2 separate regions of the Homo sapiens genome follow, and region 2 is linked to region 1. The links are contacts of gene promoters, found by promoter capture Hi-C in human tissues and cell types (Jung and others, 2019). All regions are on one chromosome and are shown on one strand. The core of a region is centred on a gene start or on the middle of the fragment in contact, and the rest is flanking DNA. Distances in the headings are between cores, read along the strand shown.

Region 1 (2,700 bases), core at 165-2,664:
TCTCAGCTCACAGCAACCTCTGCCTCCCGGGTTCAAGCGATTATCTGCCTCAGCCTCCCGAGAAACTGGGATTACAGGCATCTGCCACACTCCCGGCTAATTTTTGTATTTTTATTAGAGACGGAGTTTTACCATGTTAGCCAGGCTGGTCTAGAACTCCTGACTTCGTGATTCACCCGCCTCGGCCTCCCAAAGTGCTGGGATTACAGGTGTAAGCCACCGAGCCAGGCCTGATAATCTACTTTTTAAAAAATCTAATTCGGCCGGACGCGGTGGCTCATGTCTGTGATCCCAGCACTCTGGGAGGCGGAGGAGGGCAGATCACCTGACGTCGGGAGTTCGAGACCAGCCTGACCAAAACGGAGAAACCTCGTCTCTACTAAAAACACAAAAATTAGCCGGGTGTGGTGGCGGATGCCTGTAATCCCAGCTACTCGGGAGGCTGAGGCAGGAGAATCGCTTGAACCTGGGAGGCGGAAGTTGCGTTGAGCCGAGATCGCGCCACTGCACTCCAGCCTGGGCAACAAGAACAAAACTCCGTTTCAAAAAAAGAAAGAAAAAAATATTAATAATTCAAGTGCTTTTTTTTTTGTAAATTACTACATTGGGGGAAACAAAATTCAGGCTTAACCAACTATAAACTACAATTAACCTCTGATTATATAAACGGGAAATTTCCATCTTGATTGTACAAATTAAGAATCTACGTAACTGTACATAACCCATTACTGAATTTGGTTTTCTTCATTATGCACCTTATAAAACTCTTTCCGTCAAATCCCTTCCATAGACCATAAACTACAAACCACAGCTGGGTGCTCTGCCATTTTTGAATCACTCTTTGATTAAATCCTTTATTACTTTAGTGATGACTGCCATCAATTTTTAATAGGAGAAAAGAGGGACTGGAAACCTCACTGGACCAAAGCTCTTCCCATTCATGAACCCGCACCCGGAGTCAGGATTCTCCCCTGACGCCCCTCCCGTGGTCCCTGCACAATCTGTGAGAGAGGAGGCGCTGCGGGTGAAGAGCGGCCCAGAGAGGGCTCCAGGCCAGGGCATAGTCACAGTGCAGGAAGGAGGCAGGTCGCCCGGGGTCCCGCAGTCAGCGCAGCCGCCATCTTATGGCTGAAGGAGACTGAGGCCGAGCTGGGCAAGAGCTCGGGGCGCAGACTGTGGAGCTCACTGAGGGGAGGCCTGAGTCCCGCCACAGCCACTTTCCACCGGTTCCAGTCAGCCCCTTCCCCTTCTCAGGATATCGGACCCGGCACTCTCACCATTTCTAAGCTTCCAGGGGGTCCTGGCGTCCTAGCTGTGGATCTCCAAATACCTACAGGTCACAGGGCCACAGAGGCTAAGGACACAGAGCAGTAAAAACGAGATCCGGAGCTCCAGCTGGAACCAGAAACAACGGCCCCGCCACATCCCACAAGCCGCCCTTTCCGCTCCAGCTGAGTGCCTGATTGGACGGTTCCCAGCCCAGAGTCCCTGATTGGATAATGTTTAAATCCCCGCCTCCTCAGGCCCTGAGTGACAGAAGATGTGATCTGATGCTGAGCTGAATGAAGAGTGACGGGCCGGGCGCGGTGGCTCACGCGTGTAATCCCAGCACTTTGGGTGGCCGAGGCGGGTGAATCACCAGAGGTCAGGAGTTGGAGACCAGCCTGGCCAACATGGCAAAACCCGGTCTCTACTAAAAATAAAAATTAGGCTGGTGTGGTGGCGGGCGCCTGTAATCCCAGCTACTCCGGAGGCTGAGGCACGAGAATTGCTTAAACTCAGGAGGCGGAGGTTGCAGTGAGCCGAGATCGCGCCAGTGCACTCCAGCCTGGATGACAGAGCGAGATTCTGTCACGAAAAAAAGAAAAGAAAAGAAAAAGAAAGGAAAGGATGACAGTCTAGGCTGCAGCCTTTTCAGGCAGGGCTTCCTTCCTGAACTGAGCCAGGCCAACCCCAGAGGGTATTTGCATTTAACCTTTTGTATAAGGTCACATTCTTTTATAAATAATATATTATATGGTTATTCACAAATGAAAAGAATATAACAATTATCTAAAATTTTCAGAGTTTATGACCTTCCTGGCTTCTGGTTTTTTCATCAGATTGCCTGAGGTTTTAAAAAGAAGGCAATCCTCTGAAATAAAATTGTATTTTAAATTTTCTAGTAGCCAAACTTTAAAAATTAAAAAAAAAAAAAACAGGTGGAATTTATTGTAGCAATTTAATTAACCCAATATATCCAAAATATCATCTTAATACGTAAGCAAAATGTAAATTATAAATGAAGTGTAGATATTTTTTGGAACTTCATCTTTGAAACTAACTCTGTATTTTACCTTTCCAGCACATCACAGTTCAGACCAGCCACATTCCAGGCACTCAGTCGCCACACATGGCCAGTAGCTGCCACATTGAAGTGCAGCTCTGACCTTAGGAGAGGGAAGGGCCTGAACAAACCTTTTCTGCCAAAGATGGAAAAAGAGCCTTTCCCTACCAACATCTCTCTTCAGCTCTGAGGGAGGAACAGATAGTAGCCATAAATAAAGCACAGGACAGCAGGAAAAAACAACCACAGGTAGACCACTGCTGGCCACCTGTTGCCTACCTTTATTCCAGAGATCAGAAGGTGAACTAAGGATGGTAAGGCCACAGGAGAAGAAATCTCTGTGTCTTCAAATCTGTGCACAGTCTTGACCTCCA
Region 2 (2,934 bases), core at 175-2,674, 480 kb before region 1:
TTCTATTGTGGAGTTTCTCTGGGGCTGAAGAAAATTTATCTTTTAATTATGTTTCACAAAAACTGTCTAGAATTATCAGACATGATATATAAATATAAGGTGCCACCCAAGCTTTACTCTAGAGGAAACTTTCCCTCTCAGGCTATCAGTCAATTCACAATTGTGCTGCAAAGTGCATACTGTCCCCTAAATATGCAGGCAGAATTGCTTCTCTGCCAATTTGGTATCTTTAATCCTCCACAGTAACTTTTAGAGAAGCTAGATCAGAATTCTACAAACTTCACAGGGCAGCAATCAACCATTTTATGTTTTTCAGTGACTCTTGTATCTTCCGAACTGAAACTGATTCACAGACTATGGGGCCCAGAAACCCAATCAGAGTAACATATGTGCATTGAGTAGACATGTACACTTGGGAATCTGTACTTCCTTTTTCTTCATCTTGCTAAAATGCCCACAAATGTGCAGGGAAAACCTGCTGCTATCCCATCCATTCAGAACCTAAAACTGCAACTTCAAATTCTGAATCCAGGTCTTCAGATTTGAGAAAAAAGAAAAACTTTCTTTCTGAGAGATGCAAGTCCTTTTGGTTGTCCAACTTATAGAGACATTAAAATGAGAGCAGAATTATGTTTCTCTTTTTGTTTTTTGAACTATGTATTCATCTTTTGAAGCTGTTTGCTATTGCCACAAGTAGCTATATATTAATAATGCACACTGGACACTATAACTTGTACCGTAAAACTTAATGGTGTATATCCAATCAATAATCAATGTTATTCCTGTAAATAATAAAAATTTCTGACAAACAACTTTGTATCAACCCACTCTCTGTCCATCTTTTTTAGCCTTTACAAATCAACTTGTAATCACACTGCTAATCAAGTGTATGTTGCGGGCAACTTGAATATTTGCTCCCAGGTTACAGTCCTCAAGCTTGGCCCAAATAAACTGTCAACTTAAATCTATATTTTCTCAGCTTTTTCGTTTTAGGTAGACATATTTAGAATGTGCCAGAGTAGTGTCTATGATGAGATCTCTCCTTTGATTGTACTCTGTTTGCTGTAACACCCAAGGAGGCAGAGTCTGGTTGATCCCACCTGGAATCTGCACATAAGATCTGGCCTCTGCCTAAGATTTACAAGACAGGGCCAAACTTTGAATTGAGAGTATGCAGAAAACCAGCAGAAGACATTTTCTGTATTGTGAGATGTCAACGTAGAGATCTTAAATCTTTTCTTTGAGACTGTGGCTCTGTGAGATTTTCAGATCTTTTCCAGTGACCTGTTACAGGTATGTGAGAGACTCCAGGTATAAATAAAATCTGATGACAGAATCTGTAAGTATAAACAGGCATCTTAGGAGTGAGAGATCAAGGCCACAGAGTAACCAGAGCCATGACTACAACTATACCTACCTGTAAAATGTGATACTGGAGTAGAGTATTGTTATTTCTCTTACCCAAGAGCTAGCAAATCAGAAGAGGTGATCTAGATTCTGGAGCTTAACCAGGGCGGTTCCATTTTCTATTTATAACCAGCCTGAGTCTCTTCTGCCTGGCTCATCATTGGGTCATTAGCCCAGAGTCACTGGAAACCCTCTCACAATCACCTAGGCATCTTTGAGACATTTGAGGATGTCCAGAGCAGAACTGTGTCAAGCTGACAAAAGTGGTTAATTCTGCTTCTGTCTCAGTATAAGAGAAATGAGTCATCCTGTGTTTGTTCCTCCCCTCATACAAGAGATACCTTTAGTTGGTACCCAGACAAGAGTTTCTCCAGTTTCTTGGTACTTGGGTGAAAAACAAGAAGGAGGTCCTGAGACTCAAACAGGTAAACTAATAGCTTCCATTTCATGTGGCCATTAAAAAAATAGATGAGGGAGTCATGGTCCCTACCACCCAGGAACTTATAGTCTAGACTAGCAACTGGGTACATGGTTGAATTAAACGTCATCATATCATTGGTACAATAAACAGATGTGTGCAGAAACGCTTGGGCTTTATTTGGACTACTTTATATTCTTCTGACTTCTGATGTCATCACTTGAAGGGATGTTTATGTTTATTTCTATTTATTTTACCTTGGTAGAATACATATGTATATTTTAATAAAATTACCCTAGGAACCATAAAAGACTGGTTTAAATTGCTTATTAGTATATGTCATAAAATTGGGCACTGTCTAAAAAAATATTTAAATTACACAGATTCTGGGATTTAAGTGCATCTTAGGTAAGCTTAGGAAAAACAAAACTGGAAGCACTCCCAGTAGCATAGAGAACAGAATTCTACATAGGGTCCACTCCCTGGCCAAGTTCTGTTTAGATCCACTGTTTTTGGAGGCCTTATTTAGGTCAGGTCCCACCCTGGAGTCTTACCTCACAGAACTGGATAAAAGAGATTAGAGTTTTGGCTGGGGAATCCTGCTTCATTTCTAGAGCGGGAGTGCAGTGGCGCAATCTCAGCTCACTGCAACCTCCACCTCCTGAGTTCAAGTGATTCTCCTGCCTCAGCCTCCAGAATAGCGTGCCACCATGCCTGGCTAATTTTTGTACTATTATTAGAGATGGGGTTTCACCATGTTGGCCAGGCTGGTCTTGAGCTCCTGACCTCAGATGATCCACCCACCTCAGCCTCCCAAAGTGCTGGGATTACAGGAGTGAGCTACTGCGCCTGGCCTTTTAAGTATCTTTATGCAGCTGATGTGCACCAGTGATCACATTTAATCTGGCACCTGCCTTTCTTTCTTAGATTTTCTTTGCATATATCTATCTTTGGAAAATGAAGTCTCTCATCTTTGTTTACAGGCCAGAAAAACTGGGAAAAACACAGGTTCCCCCACTTGCTGAATGTTTGACAAAAGATTCTTTTTTGGGCCAAAAACAGGCATCACTGGTGAGCTTGTCAGAAATTCAGAAACTCAGACTTTATTC

What was found. The method cuts DNA at HindIII sites, captures the fragments that hold promoters and counts their contacts. A contact is called where the count stands out against the background at its distance.
Region 2: a contact is called between a fragment that was not itself captured here and the fragment with the promoter of ZNF99 in region 1, in 2 of the 25 tissues and cell types used here (dorsolateral prefrontal cortex and stomach).

Annotation. Positions count from the first base shown.
Region 1 is chr19:22,782,737-22,785,436 of GRCh38, forward strand. It overlaps ZNF99 (zinc finger protein 99), which reads right to left and starts at 1,415. Exons shown (of 4, transcript NM_001080409.3): 1 at 1,278-1,415. The coding sequence starts at 1,280. The HindIII fragment of the contact is 12,356 bases long and covers 1-2,700 here.
Region 2 is chr19:22,300,395-22,303,328 of GRCh38, forward strand. All of the region lies in intron 1 of ZNF729 (zinc finger protein 729), which reads left to right. Among named protein-coding and RNA genes, the nearest start is that of ZNF729, 15 kb to the left of the region's middle. The HindIII fragment of the contact is 4,203 bases long and covers 1-2,934 here.